Linked DNA regions of Homo sapiens: all the other regions are linked to region 5. Evidence: promoter capture Hi-C in 16 types of primary human blood cells and fetal thymus (Javierre and others, 2016). All regions are on one chromosome and are shown on one strand. The core of a region is centred on a gene start or on the middle of the fragment in contact, and the rest is flanking DNA. Distances in the headings are between cores, read along the strand shown. Region 1 has its middle 12 kb from the start of TRR-TCT4-1. Region 2 has its middle 13 kb from the start of CADM3. Region 3 has its middle 9.1 kb from the start of ACKR1. Region 4 overlaps AIM2 (absent in melanoma 2). Region 5 holds the start of TAGLN2 (transgelin 2).

Evidence for each region. Contacts are between HindIII fragments. The CHiCAGO score rates a contact against its expected background, and 5 or more counts as called.
Region 1: a fragment that was not itself captured here is called in contact with the fragment with the promoter of TAGLN2 in region 5 in 1 of 17 cell types (endothelial precursors); the score reaches 6.6 in endothelial precursors.
Region 2: a fragment that was not itself captured here is called in contact with the fragment with the promoter of TAGLN2 in region 5 in 4 of 17 cell types (M1 macrophages, endothelial precursors, naive CD8 T cells and 1 more); the score reaches 7.7 in M1 macrophages.
Region 3: a contact is called between a fragment that was not itself captured here and the fragment with the promoter of TAGLN2 in region 5, in 2 of 17 cell types (endothelial precursors and megakaryocytes). The highest score is 7.2, in endothelial precursors.
Region 4: a fragment that was not itself captured here is called in contact with the fragment with the promoter of TAGLN2 in region 5 in 1 of 17 cell types (neutrophils); the score reaches 5.0 in neutrophils.

What each region holds. Positions count from the first base shown.
Region 1 is chr1:159,128,365-159,131,064 of GRCh38, reverse strand. It overlaps a transcript of AIM2 not described here. Among named protein-coding and RNA genes, the nearest start is that of TRR-TCT4-1, 12 kb to the left of the region's middle. The HindIII fragment of the contact is 785 bases long and covers 1,056-1,840 here.
Region 2 is chr1:159,157,736-159,160,435 of GRCh38, reverse strand. No RefSeq gene overlaps it. Among named protein-coding and RNA genes, the nearest start is that of CADM3, 13 kb to the left of the region's middle. The HindIII fragment of the contact is 2,208 bases long and covers 167-2,374 here.
Region 3 is chr1:159,212,590-159,215,289 of GRCh38, reverse strand. No RefSeq gene overlaps it. Among named protein-coding and RNA genes, the nearest start is that of ACKR1, 9.1 kb to the right of the region's middle. The HindIII fragment of the contact is 6,582 bases long and covers 1-2,700 here.
Region 4 is chr1:159,071,736-159,074,435 of GRCh38, reverse strand. It overlaps AIM2 (absent in melanoma 2), which reads left to right. Exons shown (of 6, transcript NM_004833.3): 2 at 917-1,198. The coding sequence starts at 937. Among named protein-coding and RNA genes, the nearest start is that of AIM2, 3.7 kb to the left of the region's middle. The HindIII fragment of the contact is 3,980 bases long and covers 1-2,700 here.
Region 5 is chr1:159,924,155-159,926,854 of GRCh38, reverse strand. It overlaps TAGLN2 (transgelin 2), which reads left to right and starts at 1,348. Exons shown (of 5, transcript NM_003564.3): 1 at 1,348-1,405. It overlaps LOC124904437 (a long non-coding RNA gene), which reads right to left. Exons shown (of 2, transcript XR_007066683.1): 2 at 1-2,376. RefSeq lists enhancers at 1,670-2,246, 1,719-2,700 and a silencer at 1,978-2,387. The HindIII fragment of the contact is 4,255 bases long and covers 1-2,700 here.

The sequences.
Region 1 (2,700 bases), core at 199-2,698, 800 kb after region 5:
CACCATGGAACATCTGGAAGCTGGAGGATCATCAGGGCTTCCTGGAAGAAGTGGCATTAAGCTGTGAAGGAAGGAGAGAAAAAAAGCACTCCAGGCAGTCTGTGAGACTGACATCTAATGCCGAGAGCCAGATTGTGGAGGAACTGATAAACCTTCTTAAGGAGTTAGGATTTTATCCTAAGAGAAAATACCAGCCAATGACAGATTTGAAGAGTGCGTGCGTGTGTGTGTGTGTGTGTGTGTGTGTGTGTGTGTGTGTGTGTGGTGACCAGGCTTAGATTTATAGTTTGGAATACAGTTTGAAAAGATTATTCCAGAAGAATTTGGAGAAAGACTGAAGGGAAGCTAGGTTGGAGACAGTTTGAGGGTATATGTGATATGGTGTTGGCTTGTATTAGAGAAGTGGAGAGAAAGAGAGAGAAGAGGATAAAACTGAGGGTCATTTAATATATCAAATGAATAAGACTCAGTGGAAATCAGCTGTAAGAGGCAAAGGGAAAAGGAGAGCCCAGGATGATTCCCGGCTTTCTGGCTTGAGCAAATGAGTGAATGGAAGTGCCTTTTAATGAGAAAGGGGATAGGTAGTGGAAGTAGATTCTCAAAAAGGCCAGGGAAGATGAGTATTTCCACTTTAGACATGTTGAATTTGAGGTGTCAAATATGTACCAGTAGATATGTCTAATGGGCAGCTAGATATATGAGCCTGGAACTGTGAAGAGAAATCTAGGTCAGAAATACAAGTTAGGAATGATCAGTCTGTTGTGAGTAAATTGATGTCTTGGGAGTGGTCAATATCTCATAGAAGGTAAAATAAGAAAAGAAGAATGGCTAAGAAGAAGCCCTGAGGAACCCATCATTTAAGGAATCATCAGAGGAGGTAGAAGCGAGCAAATGAGACTGGCCAGATAGGCAGGAAGAAAACTAGGAGGGCTGGGGCCAGAATCAATGAACAGATGCTTTTAAAAAAGGGTGCACGAGCCATAGTGTCAAATGTTGCTGATAAGGGCCGACGTTTCCTTTAGGATTTGGTAATACATGGGTTGTCAAGGGAAGCTTCAGTGGAGTGACAGAAGTGGACATTAGTGAGTTCCCAAGTGAGTGAGAAGTGAGGAAGGAGAAGCAAGGAGTGTATACAATTAAAACATTTGTTGTGAAATGGAGTTAGTGGATGGGATGGGAGCTGGAGGGAGAAGTGTGTGGTTTAGGGAGTGGTTTGTTTGACAGGGAATGGTAGTGAATGTTTAAATGCTCATGGAAGTTATCTCATAAAGACAAACATTGAAGGAACAAGAGAGAGGAGTAATCAATAGATAGTTTAGTATTTGAGGAGGCAGTCAGAGATAATGATAATAGTAGTAATGAAAGTTGTTCCCCTCTTATTCAGTAACTGTTCTGAGGGCATGATTCCATTTAATTCCTACACAGCCTCTCCTACAGAGGTACTTTTTATTGTTATCCTGTTTTTTTGAGATAAGGAAACTGAGGCATAGAATGGTACTCTGAGTAACCAACATCACATAGTAAGTGGTGGAGACAGCATTGATACCCAGTCAATCTAGCTTGAGACTTGCACCATTAACCACAGTGTCCTATTGTTGGGTTCACAACCTGGCTGTAGACTCAACCCTTAGTACTGTAACTGAAGAGAAGGTGGATAGAGCAGGTACAAATGCAGTTGTCAGCTTAGTTAGCATCATGAATTTTCTAGAGATGCCATAACAAATTTCCCCAAACTGGGTGCCTCAGAAATTACAGAGATTTATTCTGTCAAAGTTTTGGAACCCAGAAGTCCAAAATCAAGGTCAAGATGTAAGCAGATTTTCACTCCTCTGAACAAGCTTCTTAGCTTGGGTCTGCATACTTCCAAACTCTGCCTCTGTCTTTACCTGGCCATCTTTTCTGTGTCTCAGATCTCTCTCTGCATTTCTCTGTAAGGATGCCTGCCATTGGATTCCAGGCCCGCCCTAAATCTACAATGATCTCATCTCAAGATCCTTACATTAATTACATCTGCAAGATGCTTTTTACAAATGAGGTCACATTCATAGGTTTTAAATGTTAAAACCTGGGCATGTCTTTTTGGGGTCCACTGTTCAATCCACTGCAGTTAGGAGATTGGATGAGTTTCTGACAAGTGGACTTGATAATTTCTGTGAGGTAACAATGTGGGTTATTTGCTGAGAATGTGTCCCAATGTAGAGGGATCAAACATATAAGGGGAGTGAAGAAATCTTGAAGTATCATTATTAAAATATGAAGAGTGAGCTGACTAGGAAATGTAGTTTGTGGAGCAGTGTGGAGAACCAGATGAAGTTTATTGTCATGAATTTATAGTTGTGTGATTTTCCCTAGCAATGATTAGCAGCCCGGGTGCAAACACTGAGGAAGCTGAGAGTTAAAGTATCTAGATCCTGGAAAGAGGGGGTGTGGGAGGGAAGGAAGGACAAAGGCAGAGGGGGTTAGGATACTGGCAAGTGGCTTTCCATGGAAGGCCATAGAGGTGAAGAAGTCGGATAGAGGACTACTGGCTTGGTCAAAAGCAGTCAAAAGAGTGGGAGTAACTGAGTGAACTCGCTATAACGATACTAGGCCATTCTCCAAGTACAGAATATTTATTACTTTAAACACACAAAAAAATCTGGATTAGTGGTTGCAGTAAAGGCAAATAGAAGTTTAATGGAGATAGAAAACTCAAAGGAA
Region 2 (2,700 bases), core at 21-2,520, 770 kb after region 5:
AAGGGTAATGATGGATCTTGGATAGACCCAGAATGTTAGCACTTCAAAGTGAGGATGTGTAGACAAAGAATATAACTGCTTTATCCCTTTCCTAATTGCATGGCATCTCTAGCACAGGGAATGAAGGATTATTTAGGATAGAATCAGTATACTGGTTTGAAAAGCTTTGTGGATGAAAAATAAGGGAAATCAATTTGATGAGATGGCTAGTTTAAACCAAATTTGGGAGGTGGGATTTGAAAACTAGACACTGAAGAGCTTTATCTTTATCCCAATGTCAGTTGGAAAAAAAATTGTAGCAGGACGTTATGTTGTTGAATTGGTATTTAAATATTAATTCTAAGATTCATTGTGGTAAAGATGGTAATTTTTAATTTATAAATTTGATGCAATACTATGCTAAATTCCAATAAGATATTTTATGGAACTTGACTAGCCTATTCTAACATTCCCTTGGAAGATAAAGTCAAGAGTAAATAGCCATAATTTTTTAAACACATGGGGCTAAGGGGGAGGATGATTTTCTAGCTATCCTAAGCAACTTTAAAATTATAGCAATTAAAACATGAAATCTTGGCACAGGAATACATAAATAGAACCATGGAGCAGAAGAGAGAGTGTAGTTACAAACCAACTTGGAAATTTAGTGTATGAAGAGTGCTACCTTCATTATATACTACACTTCTAATCAGTGACTAGAGGGTTGTACTGTTTAAAGACATTAGAATAATTGGTTATCTGTTTGTCAGTTGGTATGGGATAGGTTTAGCCTTTCCTTATGCCATATACGACAATATATTTCAGGTGGACTTGTGCTAAATTTTATAAACCAAACAACACTAAAAATGTTTGCAAAAACTGTCGAAAAATATACTTAATCTTAGAGTGGGAAAGACCTTCCTAAGCAAGACACAACACCTAGAGTCGATAAAGGAAAGGACCGATAAGATTTACTGCATAATTTTTAAAACTGATATAATTGCAGACCCATAGACAAAATGTAAAAGTAAGTCACAGACTGGGAAGATTTTATTTGCAATATATATGCCAAAGTATCAAAATTGCTAACATGCAAAATAGTCAGCAAATAAACATAAAAAAGACAAACAGTCCAAGAGAAAATTGGGCAAAGGATATGAGTATGAATTCTCAGAAAAAAAATACAGTTGTCTAATAAACATTTGAAAAGATGATCAACGGCATTTGGATTTTGAGAAATACAAGTTATAGCACCAAAGAGATCCTAGACTGTTAAAAAGCATCAAAGAACCCATCAGATTGTTAAAAAATTAAAATGATGGATAATACTCAGTGTTGGCAAGTGCTTAGGGAAATAGGCACCTTTATATATTGTTAGGGAGGATGTAAATTGGCACAGCCTTTTTGGAGATATTTTGGCAGAATGCATCAGAATTAAAAATAGAAATACCAGCAGTGCTATTTCTACAAATTATGCTATAGATCTGTTCACACATGAGTGCTCTGATTTATGTGCAGAGATATGCATCACATCATTTTTTTCCAGTAGTGAAAAATTGAAGACAACATAAATATTCATCAATAGTGAATTGGATAAATAGATTATGCTATATCATACTTTGTAATAACACATTGCAGTTAAAAAGAATGAGGTAAATTTATATCTACCAACATAGAAAGATACAGAAGGTATGTTGTTCAGTGAAAATACAAAGAAAATACACATACTGCTATCCCTTTTGTGTAAAATGGGAAAAAAGCATAAAACATATACATATGTGTATGTAAAATCTTATATGCATATAAATATGTGTTTAAGTAAATGAATAGTTACTTACTGGCTGTGTGACTTCAGGCAAGATACTTAACCGCCTCAGCATTTTTTTTCATTGTGTGGAAAATAGAGATAATTTTACATGACCCCTAGGGTGGTATGATGTGAAAATTAAATAAATTAATCTATTTAAATTGCTTTAAATAGCGCCTGGCACATAGTAGGCACTTGAGTGTTTCTATTGTTCAGATGCATATTAAACTTGGAAAATTATTTTCTGGGCCAGGAGTGAGACTTAAGTCATAAGGGGGACTATAATTGTCCATATTATATACTTCATATTTTTATAATGTGTGCCTATGTATTGAATGATTAATTTTTTTTAAATTAAATGCTTATTCTAAGAATATGAGTTAAAAGATGATTATAGAAATCCAGGAACAAAGTAAAAGAGTCCTGAGCAAGGGCAGTGGAATTGGGAATGGAAAAGAGGTGCTACGTTTGGTGTTGGTTATGGGAAGCAAGACAGAGGGAGAAGGCTGAGGCAGCTCTCAGTTTTGGCTTTTGAGTGACTTGGAAAATGCTGAACCATGAAAAGAAATAGTGGAATTAGGAGAAGCTTTTTGTGGGGTTTAGTATTTTGGAATGAAGGAGGATTAGTGTCTTACTTGAGGCTGCTAAAACAGAATACCATAAACTATGTGGCTTAAACAACAGACTTTGGTTTCTCACAGTTCTGGAGGCTGGGAAGTCCAAGATCAAGGTACTGGTGGATTTGATTCCTGTTGAGTGTCCTCTTCGTGGTTTGCAGACAGCCACCTTCTCAATGTGTCTTCACATGGTGGAAAAAGAGATTGTCTCCCTGTGTCTCTTCTTATAATGACACTAATTCCATTTATTAGAGTTCCACCTTCATGACCAAATCACCTCTCATAGGACTCACATCT
Region 3 (2,700 bases), core at 89-2,588, 710 kb after region 5:
TTTAAGCCCTTCTCTAAACAATACTATAATGCAGAAAAGCCAGCCCAAATGCCATTAAAATACCCACCAACAGCTCCCATTACCATCACTACTATCACCTGCTCCCTTCCCTTGCCCCCTGTTGACCCCTGTTGTAAGGGAATTCTTCCTTAGAGGTCCCTGTGAAACACTGTTTTAGGCAGATTCCGTGAGTCCTTTGGTCACAGGGCTGAGAACACACCCAAAGACAGAGCTGGAAGGCTAACTCCTAGCAGTCCAGCTCCCATGTGCTCCTGCCTTTGTAAGAACTTGTGTTTAGGGTGAAGTGACCCCAAAAGGCAATGGACATTTTTCGAATTGCCTGCAGGGCAAACTCTTCTTTAATACTAATTGCAGTGTATTTCCTCCCAGCTGTAACTGATTTCAGAGCTTCCACATCTGTCAGTCATCCCATTTAATCTTTACATCAGACCTGTGAGCCAGGCAAGGAAGGTGTCATTACCTGCTTTTTCTCTTAGAAACTTAGAAAGCTGCGAAGTGCTACGGCTCAGAATGCACAACTCATGTCTCCCTACTCAACCCAGTGCTCTATCTGACCACCCAACTCTGATATGTTTTGCATTTTGCCAGGGAATGAAAATGAAACTTGGAATACCTAACTGATGGCCTGGTATCCTGGGGAGCTGTCTACTCTGGTTTCTAAAAGTTGTATCTCTCTCAACTCCCTTCTTTCTCTAAATTTAAATTAGCCAAGACAAGGTAAAAAGGGTCAGGAAAAATTTGGAAAGAAATTCGTGAGTTATGTCACCTCTATTTTTAGTGTTAATTATAAAGAAGAACCTTCTGAAATATACATGTATTTAGGTTTCTTTGCCTGCTTTTTGCGGGACTCCTGCATCCCTCTAATTCTCTGGCCAAACCTGGGCCAGAGAAGCGAATTGAAGTGACAGCTTCTGACCACTAGAGGGACCCCAGGCACCAGCTACAATTTCTCTGCAGCAGCTAGTGCCTGGAATGGTACCCACCTCTTGGAAAAATTCAGGTCAGGTGCATATCTGGCTAGGAATCCCTTCGTTGTTTGGTCTCCTGAAGAGAAAAGGTATCCTAGCTCTGAATCAGAGGAATTTAGTTCCATAACGCAAGCAAAGAGATTAAAGTCATCACAAGTGAAACCCAGACACCAGAATCAAAGATTATGCATTTTAGTCTAGTTCTTTCACTTAACATATTATCACAGAGTTTCAGAGTCTTCTAGTTCCAAAAATTATGATTAATGGTATCTTGGATTAGATCAAGGACTATTGAAAATCTTCCTCTAGGTGATTCCAATGTATTGCCAATTTGAAAGAAAGCAGCTGGACTGGTCCCAGCTTTAACCCAATTCAGGGAATGCTTTCTGTGACATTTTGATAATTTATTACCGTCAAGCCACAGCTTGGATCCTTTCTGTAGCTATGAACTCATAACTCAAATTGCTTTTACCTTCTTATTTTCTTTCTCTTATTTGCACCAGAGATGAAAATTTTTTTATTTGCATTTCTCTTAAATGCTGTTATCTCATAACAGCATTTGTAATTTATTTGTGTGTTTATGTGTCTAATTACTGCCTTTCACTTTAGTCTCCAAACACCACAAAGGCAAGGCCCACATCTGATATGCTCACCACTGTAAAACAAGAACACAGAGCAGTGCATAACACACGGTCTGCTCATACACATTTCCTTCCTCCCTCCACTTCTTCCCTCCCTCCCTCCAGAATGTGACAGCCATCTCTGTGGCTCAGATTGAATTGTCAAAAGCTCTTCCTAACATTCAGCCAAAACCAGCCTCCCTGTTACTTCTTCTCATTCAGTGTTTCTAATTCTGAAGCTACATACATGCCTAATGCTTTTTGAACAGCACAACTGTTGAGTTAAAGACAACTATATATTTTCTACACATTTCCAGTGTAAATCTCCCCCACCCCTGACCCCCTTGCACCTTTAGTCTCTCCATGTAGAAGTAACATGGTCTCTAGATTGTCAACATTTTGGCCACTAGCTCCCTCTGCCTTGTCTTCACTTTTTTTTTTTTTTTTCCCAGACAAGGTCTCACTCTGTCGCCCAGGCTGGAGTGCAGTGACACGATCACGGCTCACTGCAGCCTCGACCTCCCAGAATCCAGGGATCCTCCCACCTCAGCCCCCTGTGTAGTTGGGACTGCGGGCACACACCGCCATGCCCAGCTAATTTTTGTATTATTTGTGTGTGTGTGTGTGTGTGTGTGTGTGTGTGTGTGTGTGTGTGTGTTTTCAGATGGGGTTTAATCCTGTTGACCAGACTGCTCTGGAACTCCTGGGCTTAAGCAATCTGCCCACCTCAGCCTTCCAGAATGTTACGATTATAAGCGTGGCAGCTGCACCCAGCCTGGCCACCCCCTTTTTAAGAACTCTCATTTGTTAGTGGCCTTTAAACATGCAGTACCCAGAGCCAAGCCCTCTATTCTAACTATGGCCTGTCCAGGGCAGGGGTGGTGCTGTGCACTCCCTCGTCCTGTACACTTTGTCTCTTAATGCAGTTGAGTCTGCATTAGTGTTTTGGCTACCACATGCACTATTGAATCATCTTTAGCTTGTAGCCAAGTGAAACCTCTAAGTCTTTAAAAATTTTTTTTTACAAGAACTTCTGTTGAGCCAGGTATCTTCCATCCTGTTTTTGTGCAATTGATTTTTAAACGCAGGTT
Region 4 (2,700 bases), core at 25-2,524, 850 kb after region 5:
GTCTTTTTAACATATGATTCTGGGAAAATTCATATTCATATGAAAAATAAATGAACTTTGAATCATCACTTATATCATATACAAATTAACTCAAAGCAGTACATACAGCCAAATGTGAAATGATCAAACCGTAAAATTCTTACAGGAAGACATAAAATCTTCTAATCTTGAGATTGGAAAAGATTTCTTAAATAAGACACTGAAAGCATGATCCATGAAAGAACAGATTGATTAATTGCACTTCATCAGGTATATGTATATGCCAAAATTTATCAGATTGTATACTTCCAGTGTATGCACCGTGTTGTATGCCAGTTATGCCTCGATAAATCTATTTTAAAAATAACAGGAAAATGTATCCTGTTTCCTTTTTGTTGTTGTTGTTGTTGTTGTTTTGAGATGAAGTTTCGCTCCTGTTGCCCAGGCTGGAGTGCAATGGCGCGATCTTGGCTCACTGCAACCTCCACCTCCCAGGTTCAAATAATTCTCCTGCCTCAGCCTCCTGAGTAGTTGGGATTACAGGCGCCCACCACCATGCTCGGCTAATTTTTGTACTTTTAGTAGAGATGGGGTTTTGCCATATTGGCCAGTCTGGTCTCAAACTCCTGACCGCAGGTGATCCGCCCACCTTGGCCTTCCAAAGTGCTGGGATTATTACAGGCGTGAGCTACCGCGCCCAGCTAATGTATCTTGTTTTCTGAGAATTCCAGAGGTGTTGTATACTTTCTGAAGATGTCTTTCCCAGGAGTAGTGATCACCTTGCTTAAGAAGTTCTTACCTATGTCCTACTCAAATCTCTTTTACTACTGCAAATATTTTATTTTTCTTTAAAAAATATTAATAGCTCACCTTGCTTTATTTTGAATGTAGAATCACTTTTGGTGGTGTAATCTTACATGTTTTGGATTCCTTATAGGCTGATCCCAAAGTTGTCAGATGGAGAGTAAATACAAGGAGATACTCTTGCTAACAGGCCTGGATAACATCACTGATGAGGAACTGGATAGGTTTAAGTTCTTTCTTTCAGACGAGTTTAATATTGCCACAGGCAAACTACATACTGCAAACAGAATACAAGTAGCTACCTTGATGATTCAAAATGCTGGGGCGGTGTCTGCAGTGATGAAGACCATTCGTATTTTTCAGAAGTTGAATTATATGCTTTTGGCAAAACGTCTTCAGGAGGAGAAGGAGAAAGGTAATGTGGGAGTTCCACACCTGCCCCGTCCCTTTTTCTGCCAAGCCTGGGCCTTTCCTTTCATGGCATCCCTGGGATATGACCCCCAGTGCACATTGTTGGAATTTGTTTGCTAACTTAGTGCACCTGTCTCTTTGCCCCCTTTTACTGAGAATCGCTTCTAGGAAGTGTTTGTTACAAATTCCACAAATCCATTCCAGCCTTTGTTTGCATCTCTTCTTCCAGCCTTAGGGTTACCACTTCCATTTAACATCTTTTCTCCTTGCCCATCTTTGTCTCCAGTTCAGTTGCAGTGAATATGGACGTAGAATTTCAAAGTTAACTTCTCCCAACTCCATTTACACAGTATGTAATGCTGTCACATTCTACTGAAGTCTTGAAAGTATAAATTATTGCATTGGAAAACTGTAAACCAGGATATTGAGCACCTTTTTTCCTTCACACAGTCTGTCTATTCCTCTCCTTGTCCCCAGCTTTCTGTGGTCCCAGACTATCCTTCTTTAGGCGATGATCTCCTCCTTCTTCAGAAGGGAGGGAGAATCCACCTTCAGGGATTTTCTTTCCTCTCTATCTCCAGTACAGGTGACAGTATAAATTACCCACAACACAAAGATTTTTTTTACATTATTCAATAAATCACTCATCTCCATCTGAATTATCTACATTTAGTTTAAATTCCTGATTTTGTTTACTAAGAACAATTGATATGTCCCAGCTTTATGTCTGAAGAACAAAAAGGAGCTAACAGAGGAGCATATCACTCAAGGACTCTCCAAAATGAAAGTCTCCAAATGCAACAGTTTTAGGATTCAAAGTACAACAGTAGCAGCAAAAATTATAATAGCTTTTAGTAGCATTTGTGGGTGTACAACAAGGGTGACATGGCTTCTCACACATGAGTTATAGGAAGGCTAAATGAAGCCACATAAGTGATACTATGTACATTCATAATTCTATACAGATATAAACTGTTAGGTAGTTTCTAAGGCACTAAAGAGAAAGGAGTGGTGGTTTTCCCAGGCTTTAAGTTAGAAGGTGTAGTTCTTAGAGATGGCCCTTAGATGGCAGTAACTACACATGTTACTTCCAAGTAACCAACCAAAACATTGCCCTGTGTTTTTCTTATCTGGGATGAGCCAGGAATCTAGGCATATTGGCAAACATAGGCTGAGATATTTAGAAATATCTTTTATTTTGGTAATAAATCAAGAATTAATTCTTCTCTTTGACCAGGATAGAACAAAATTTCCCCTTCTACAATCTTCTCCCCATTTTGCTATTCTAATGATTCTGGGATTTTGTTATTCTGCTTAGCTAAAAAAGATCCAGTTTGGGACTAGCTTGGAAACTCAGGAGTAGATTATCCAAGGACTCTCCCAAATGAGAGTCTCCAAATGTAACAGTTGTAGGATTCAAAGTATGCTTTTGGGCCAGGCGCAGTGGCTCACGCCTTTAATCCCAGCACTTTGGGAGGCCAAGGCGGGTGGATCACTTGAGTTCAG
Region 5 (2,700 bases), core at 99-2,598:
CTGGAAGCACGCCTTTGCCCTTGAGGAGTTCTTTCTAGTCAGTGAGGCGGACAAAGAAATAGTTACCGTATGATAAGTTCCGTGATAAAGCTATGTGTTGGTTATTGTAGCACAAAGGAAGATGTTGCATTCAAGGCCACCTTTAGTGAACGCTAATATCGTGTGCTGGGACAAATGCCACATATTGGGGGGGAGTCCTCAGGACCCTCACAGATAGATGGTGGTAATAATAGTATTCACTATGTGCCAGGCACTGCTCTAAGCCCTATAGGTGGACTGTTTAGTTCTCTACAATTCTATGAATTAGGTAGTACTATTAGCTCTGTTCTATAGACCAGGGAACTCAAGCATAGAATGCACAACAGTCACACAGCAGGTAAAGGGTAGAGCAGGTGGGGAGCCAGTCAAGGAAGGGAAACTGTCCTAGGCAGAGGAATAGCCTTTGTAAAGGCACAGAAGAGTGAGAATGCTTGACAATCAGTGGGACTGGAATATAGGGCTGTGTAGGACTCGGGGAGGGAACAGAGAATAATAGAAAGGTTGGACAGGACTGGATATTGACATCCTGGAATCTCAGGTTCAAGGGAGGACTCTATCATGTGTGCAGAACTCCACCCCGGGGGACTCTATTCAACTGAAGCCTGAAAGGATGGGGGGCTCTTTCTCCACCCCTGAACTGTGCTGTCCTCCACCCTCAGAGACAAAAGAACCCCAGCCAGCCTCCTCGCGCTGAGGTCTCCCCCTCTGATCCCTCCAGGATTTAGGAAGAGATACCAGGTCATAGAAAAGGAGATGAAAGGCAGGGAGAAGACAGGTCTGAGCCCTGGGTCCCAACACCGAAAACACCCCTAGGGCCCTGGGCAGAGTGACCTCACTGTTAGTCCCTGCCCAGGCTTGAAGTAAGAGGTGAGCAAGATCACGTGGGGGTGCTGTCCCGGCCTGCAAGTCCCAGTCCTGTCACACACTAGTCAGTTGGGGTCGGGGGAAGGCCTTCCTGTGCCTCCTTTTACCTTGCCAGCCTCTAAACTAGGAGGCTTCTTCCTACATAAACACGCCCACAGTGTTTAGCTAACTTTCTAGGCAGAAAGTTTCCTACTGGGGCACAAGTCTACGGGCTCTCGGTGGAGGCTGAGGTACTCACGGGTGGAGACCACTGCAGCCGCCTTTGTAGATTCAGACTCCCCGAACCTTTAACCCTTGCTCTGGTCTACTGTCCCTCTGTCTCAAGCAGTCCTCCCTCCTTCTGCGCTGCGGCGCCTTTAAACCTTCTTGGCCCTTGCCCCGCCCCGGGTCCGCCCCGTCTGAGGCGGGACCCTCCTGAAAATCCCCGGCTGGGCAGGGCGCACCACTTGCAGCTGCAGCCCTTGCCTTGAGTCAGTGCGCCGCTCTCCAGCCCGCTTGAACGGTGAGCAGGTCGGGGGTACGGGGGTCGGGGACATGTGCGTGCTGTGTAGAAAGCAAGAAGCCAGCGCTTTGAACTTGCTCCAGCGAGCTCGGGGATCAAGGGCTGGTACCAGGCAAGGGTCCGGTGACTACTTTACCCCGCCCCGTGCTGTCAGGTCCTGTCCCCAAGCCCTGACCCGACATTGTTGGACGATGAGGTCAGGCGAGGTTAGCCCATGCATAGACAGGGCGTCCGTCTGGAGCAGGGACTCAGGGACTGAGCCCCACCCGCGGGCTCCATCGCTGAGTCCTCACTGGGGCGAGGGGAAAAAAGGGCGTCGGACTTTAGCTGGCTGGCCCCGAGTGACCCCGGGTCGTGGCGCCGGCCCTGGGCCAGCTCGTGCTCCTGGGCTTTCCCGCGCGACCCTTCACTTCCTGGTTCCAGGAGCACGTGTGAGCACTGCGTGCCCTCTGAGTCCCCGAGGCCGCCCTTTTCATTCCTGTTCCTGCTAGCTTGCTATTCTGGGGACTTGAGGTCACGGGCTGGGGCTAGGGGGCTCTGCATGGGTCGCACGGTGACCTTCTGTGAAGCTCCAGTCATCTCTATGACGGTCCCCTGACCTCGGGGGTCTGGGTGCTGCAGCCCTGACTGCGCCCCGGGGTGCCCTGTGTGAGGTTGTGGGGGTGGTGGTGGCTGCTTTTACCCTGCCCGAGCGCCGCTGCCCCCACCGGGTGCCCCCTGCTGCTGGGAAAGCCGGTGGTGGCCGCGGGCGGACGGGCGGGCTGCCCAGACCACTGCGTCACCCCAGCGGCGGGAGGGCGGTGGGTGACTCATCTGTTGTAACGGCCCAGGGTGTGGTCGTGGGGGTGGGGGGCGGCGGCTGGGAGGCCGGACCTGCAGGACCGGAGGTGGACTGCCGCCTCCCCCCGCGCCCTGTGCCTCCTGGGGCTACCTGAAGCCGGTGTCCTGGGAGATCTGTGAGCAGTTGGTATCTGTGGGGCAGAGAGAAACGGGGTGAGAGTGGGGATGGAGTGTGGGATTCGATGTAGAAGACCTGCGGCTGGGACGGGGCTCCCCCAGTGTTCTCATTGACTTCAAAGCACCAGACAGCAATGGCTCTCTATCTCTAGCCCCCTCCCAGTTTCTCCTCCCCACTACAAGGGGCAGACCTACAACTGCAGAGGAGGCCAAGGCAGGGCGGGCCCAGTAGGGCCCTACCATTCCAGAACCAACAAATAGGTTTTGTCCAACCGCAACTCCCTCCCTCACCCCAAGGCCTCTGCCCCTGTCCCCCACCCCGGGATTGGCCCCTAATC